2 separate regions of the Homo sapiens genome follow, and region 1 is linked to region 2. Evidence: promoter capture Hi-C in human tissues and cell types (Jung and others, 2019). All regions are on one chromosome and are shown on one strand. The core of a region is centred on a gene start or on the middle of the fragment in contact, and the rest is flanking DNA. Distances in the headings are between cores, read along the strand shown. Region 1 has its middle 8.3 kb from the start of PCIF1. Region 2 holds the start of RBPJL (recombination signal binding protein for immunoglobulin kappa J region like).

Evidence for each region. Contacts are between HindIII fragments. The study calls those that stand out against the background at their distance.
Region 1: a contact is called between a fragment that was not itself captured here and the fragment with the promoter of RBPJL in region 2, in 1 of the 25 tissues and cell types used here (dorsolateral prefrontal cortex).

The regions. Positions count from the first base shown.
Region 1 is chr20:45,925,082-45,927,781 of GRCh38, reverse strand. No RefSeq gene overlaps it. Among named protein-coding and RNA genes, the nearest start is that of PCIF1, 8.3 kb to the left of the region's middle. RefSeq lists an enhancer at 178-472. The HindIII fragment of the contact is 6,331 bases long and covers 1-2,700 here.
Region 2 is chr20:45,305,470-45,308,169 of GRCh38, reverse strand. RBPJL (recombination signal binding protein for immunoglobulin kappa J region like) reads right to left here and starts at 1,330. Exons shown (of 12, transcript NM_014276.4): 1 at 1,226-1,330; 2 at 1-27. The coding sequence starts at 1,247. MATN4 (matrilin 4) reads left to right here. Exons shown (of 10, transcript NM_001393530.1): 2 at 2,554-2,660. The coding sequence starts at 2,588. The HindIII fragment of the contact is 4,763 bases long and covers 153-2,700 here.

The DNA of each region.
Region 1 (2,700 bases), core at 93-2,592, 620 kb before region 2:
CGTGTCCAGCTCCTGAGTCTCTGCATATGCTGTTTGCCCTTACTCTTCTTCCCCTCTTGACCTAATTCAGCCTTCGAGTCTTAGCCTAGATGTCGCCTCCACCAGGCAGCCTTCCCTGAACTTCCTTCTACCCCGGCTAGGACAGGTTCCCTCTCTTGTACTACCACAATGGTCTAAGCTCATAATGTTTGTCAATTTTCCTCATCCACTAGGCTGTGCGCTGCTTAAGGGTGGGGCCTGGGGCTTATTCACCCTTGTAACCCCATGCTCAGTACTGTGCCTGACCCTCTGTAAATATTTGATGACCATGAACAGACCACTCTGGGTTGAAGTCTAGGTGGCTTTTTCAGGTAGCCCGTTTATTTATTTATTTTTTGAGACAGGATCTCCCTCTGTCGCACAGGCTGGAATGCAGTGGTGTGATCTTGGCTCACTGTAACCTCTGCCTCCAGGATTCAAGCGATTCTCCTGCCTCAGCCTCCGGAGTAGCTGTGACTAAAGGCACACATCACCAGGCCCAGCTAATTTTTGTGTTTTTAGTAGAGATGGGGGTTTCACCGTGTTGACCAGGCTGGCCTCGAACTCCTGACCTCAAGCAATCTGCCTGCCTCGGCCTCCCAAAGTGGTGGGATTACAGGCGTGAGGCACTGTGCCTGGCCAGGTATCCCCGTTTCTATTCCAGGCTCTGGTTTCTGTGGTGGGAACACCAAGGCAGCACCCTGTGGGCTGCCTGCTGTGGCCGAGTCTCTGTCAGTAGCCTGGAGTCTTTTATTCCCAATATAGGGATGAGCAGTTGAGCAAAGATCCTAAGGCTTTCCATTTCTCCAGCTACTTTTCTGAACTAAGAAGCCTGGGTAGACAATAGGTCTGGGCTGAGAGAGGTGGTTGGAATAAGCTGGGCTCCTCTCCCTGGCACCAGGGCCGGCTGCATAGATTTAGAAAGGCCCATGCTTACTGGGTGTGGAGGCTCATGCCTGTAATCCCAGCACTTTGGGATGCCAAAGTGGGAGGATTGCTTGTGGCCAAAAGTTCAAGACCAGCATGTGCAACATAGAACCCCATCTCTACATAAAATAATAATAGTAATAATTAGCTGGGCATAGTAGGTGCTCCTGCAGTCCTAGCTACTTGGGAGGCTGACGCAGGGGGTGATTGCTTGAGTCCAGGAGTTCGAGGCTGTAGTGAGCCATGATTGCACCACTGCACTCTAGACCCTGTCTCAAAAAATAAAAACAAGATGAAAATAAAAATAATAATAAAAAAGAAAAGTCTGTGTTTGGTTTAATGTTCTACTGTCACCATCTTAAAAATCTTAATAATTTTGGAACAAAAGTCCCACGTTTTCATTTTGCCCTGAGCCCTGAATATTGTTTTTTGAGACAGCGTCTTGCTCTGTCACCCAGGCTGGAGTGCAGTGGTGCAATCTCGGCTCGCTGCAACCTCCCCCTCCCAGGTTCAAGCAATTCTCTTGCCTCAGCCTCCCCAGTAGCTGGGACTACAGGCACGTGCCACTGGGTCCAGGTAATTTTTAGATTTTTAGTAGAGATGGGGTTTCACCATGTTGGCAAGTCTGGTCTCACACTCCCAACCTCAGGTGATCCACCCACCTTGGCACCCCAAAGTGATGGGATTACAGGCGTGACCCATCATGTCCGGCCCTAGCCCTGAAAATTATGTCACCACTCCTGGCTGGTCACTAGCTGCCAGGGCCTCTGAGGACCCCTGCCTCAACTCCGGACAAAGCCAAGCCTCCACACTAAAGCAGAAACATAAACAACCAGCTCAGGTTGCCACATAGCTTAACCCCCTTGTTCTCTGCCACTGCAGCAAGAAGCTGCTGAGAGGGAACTTTCATCCCCTGAGGTCCTGGCAGCTGGGGAAGGGAGACTCTAGCTGGATCCCACTCCAGGTTGCCCCCGCCTAGGCTGGGCTTGAGCTGGCCATGGACCCTACACTGCAGTTTAAATTATGCAAAGGGAGTTTCCAAGGCAAGTGGGTCTGGCCCCCGGAAAGCTGTGGAAAGGAGGCTTCCACCCCAAACTGTGGTTCCCACAGGGAGTGGCTCTTGGGCCATTCTGGGACCAGATGAGAGAAGCCATTTAGGCCAAGAATAGATGAGAGGAATGGGGGCGTCTCCCTTGGTCTTCCTGGCCTTGGAAGCGTCTGATGTGGTGTACTATTCCCTCCATTTCTTCCCTTGGCCTGTCCTAGAGTCTTGAGAATAAGCGATAAGTAAGACGGACAGACGGTTTGTCTTAGGGAGCCCACAGAGCAGTGTGGGAGGCAGACATATACATGAACCCTCTGCCACAGGGAGATGAGGGCTCTGGAGGGATGGCAGGGGCTGGGGGTGGTGGGCACACAAAGGAGAAAGCTTCAGAGGAGATGACAATGAACAGATTCTTATTGGAAAAATAGATTTTCCAGGTAGGCAAGGAAAAGGGGAGGGCACAGCGTGTGCCAAGGCCTGGAGGTATAGAAAGGGAGGGTGTGTTTGGAGAGCTGGTCAACCTGAGCACAGCCAGGGAGCAAGGGAGGTGCAGGTCCTACCAGGACCCTGGAGTCCAAATTCAGTCCTTGCTCTGGGTTAGTGCTCAGCATCCCAGGCGGCGTTTGGTCATATCAAGATAGGGGTGGGCCACCTGTGGTGGTCCCCTCCACTCTCCCACCCATTCCCTGTGATGCGCTTTTTTTTTTTAA
Region 2 (2,700 bases), core at 81-2,580:
TCAAAGGATTGGGAGGCACTGAGGGGTCTGCAGGGGAGTAGGCATCAAGCCAGGTCAGGCGAGTGTATTTTAGCAGAGACGCTGCCTAGGGTGCCCTATCTGATTTGCAGTGCCCTTCCCCACTTCTGCAGGGTCCTTTCCAAATCGAGCCCCCACCCTCAAAGCCATCAAAATAGGATCATCCCTTTTCTACTCTCATCCCTCCAGGAACCCCCTGAAATGTCCCTAAGGGACTTTTGAGAATTTATTTACAGGCCTCTCCTCCCTTGCTGCTCCACTCCCTCAACCTCACCTCAGGGCATCTCTGAATCTTTCTTTTTTTAATGCAAGGATTAACTCCTCAGAGGAATCCCAGGTTCTAGTATCAGTCCTGCCACGACATCGCCATGTACCCTTCAGCAAGACACTACCCTCTCTGGACCTAGTTCCTTTCTTTGTAGAATGAGGGGTTTGGAAAGGTGATGAACTTTGAGGCATTTGCTATTTTGACTTTCTAGGATTCCTGGGGTGGAGGCAGGGTGCCAGGTGAGAAGTTGGCTCAGACCAAGAATGGGATGAGGGGAACCTTAACCAAGATTTAGGGGCCCAGAGGCATCTCCGGGTAGGAAAGTATGGGAGGTGGCAGAGGCCCCTTGTGCCTTAGCCCTCATGCTGTCCAGGGATGTTGGCTTTGCCTGTGGCCCAAGCTTGACAAGGGTTCCCCGCCCTCCCACTTCCACCAGCGCTGCCACATCTTGCTTGGTCACCCTCCCACGACGGGCCCTGCCAGAGGATTTATGTTCTTCTACCAGGCCTGGGAGGGGAAAAGGGAGAAGAATCCGGGATGAGAAGGTCGCCTGGAGTGAGAAGCAGGCACTGGCCTCGCTCAGAATAGGCGCATTCACGGAATTGGGGGGCGGGGGCGGAGCTGCTGTTGGGTTAGGGGCAGCTGGCCCTCTCTGCCAAGAAACAGCAACAGAAAAATGGCTAACACAGCTTCAGCATGGGGCGCGGCGGTGGGGTAGGAGCTGGAAGGAAATGAGGTTTAGTGAATTCTAGGCGCCAGGGGGCCTCAAGAGAGAGAAGGGGAACCAGGAGCCCTAGGTTCTAATCCTGCTTTTGCAGTTCGGCGGGCTGCCTCCTTGGGGCTTAGTTTTCCTATTTGTATAGTGGGGAGGGGGTGGGGGGGTGGTCCTTCGTAGTTCTCACGGGGCGTCTCCGGGGCCTCGGGAGGGTAAGCGCTCACCTGCTGCCCCTGCGGGGTCCATGGTGGCTCCACGGGGCCCCAGCCGCTCACCCGCCGCCCTCTGGACGAGTCCAGTGCTGCTGTCGCTGGAACCCTGCACACCCCTGCTCCTCGGCTCTTGCGCGGGTTATATCCTGTCCAGGCCTTATCTCCAAGGCCCCGGGCCCCGGCCCCCTGTTTGCTCGGGGTGGGCGCACCTGCTGGGCAGATGTGGGCTTCCCACGCCCCCTGCCATCTCGGGCGCCCCCTGGCGGTCGCTCCTGAGAGCAGGCGGGAAACAGGCGCCAAGCCGCGCGTTCTCGTGCGCAGTGGGTTTTGGTCCACTCGCTGCCACGCCACCACGCTCAGCCCCGCAACAGGGCGCAGCCCCTCCCTGCCGCCTGCGGTTGGGCAGTGCATGTCTGTGTTTGTGTGTGTGGAGGGGTCTGGGGGGGTTGGCGAGTTGCAAAGACAGCCACACAGAAGCCTGTGTGCGTAGGGGAGTGGGCCGAGGTGGGGAAGGGCTTCTGTCTGCAGAGGTTCGCCTGGCAGGAGGAGAGGCACCAAACGCCCAGGCTGGCTCACAGAAACTAGCAGGCGTGGGATTGTATCCTGCCGCAGCCACTTTTTGGCCGAATGACTTTGGGTACCAGCGCTTAACTTTTCTGAGCCTCAATTTCATTGTCTGTATGATGGGGGACAATCACAGCCTTAGTCTTACAATTGCAGAGAGGATTAAATGCCACAATGCGTGAAGAGCATTTAACACTGTGCCTGACATTTAAGGAAGACCTGTTTTTTTCTGTTTAAATTTTGCATATTTGTATCTATGTATCTATTCTTATTTACCATTCTCTTGTGGGCCGAGCGCGGTGGCTCACGCCTGTAATCCCAGCATTCTGGGAGGCCGAGGTGGGAGGATCACCTGAGGTCAGGAGTTTGAGACCAGCCTGACCAACATGGCAAAACCCGCTCTCTACTAAAAATACAAAAAATTAGCCAGGTGTGGTGGCAGGAGCCTGTAATCCCAGCTACTCGGGAGGCTGAGGCCGGAGAATCGCTTGAACCTGGGAGGCAGAGGTTGCAGTGAGCCGAGATCATGCCACTGCACTCCAGCCGGGACGACAGAGCAAGACTCTATCTAAAAAAAAAAAAAAAAAGAATCTCTTGTGTTTCCCAGCAATCCCACTGTGATGAGAATTTTTTAATTCTGAAACATTTCAAACATACACAAAAATAGAGAGATTAGTAAAATAAACCTGTAACTGTCTTCCCCCTCCAAGTGCCTATCACCCAGAATAAGAGCTCTGTAAATACTGTTGCTTTTCTATTTTCCTTCCTCCCTCCAGGCTCTGACACCTCCATTCTCTGTCCCCAAGCGCCATGAGAGGCCTTCTTTGCTGGCCCGTGTTGCTGCTCCTTCTTCAGCCCTGGGAAACCCAGCTCCAGTTGACAGGTGAACTGGGGCCCAGCCCTCACCAGTGGGAGGAGGGGAG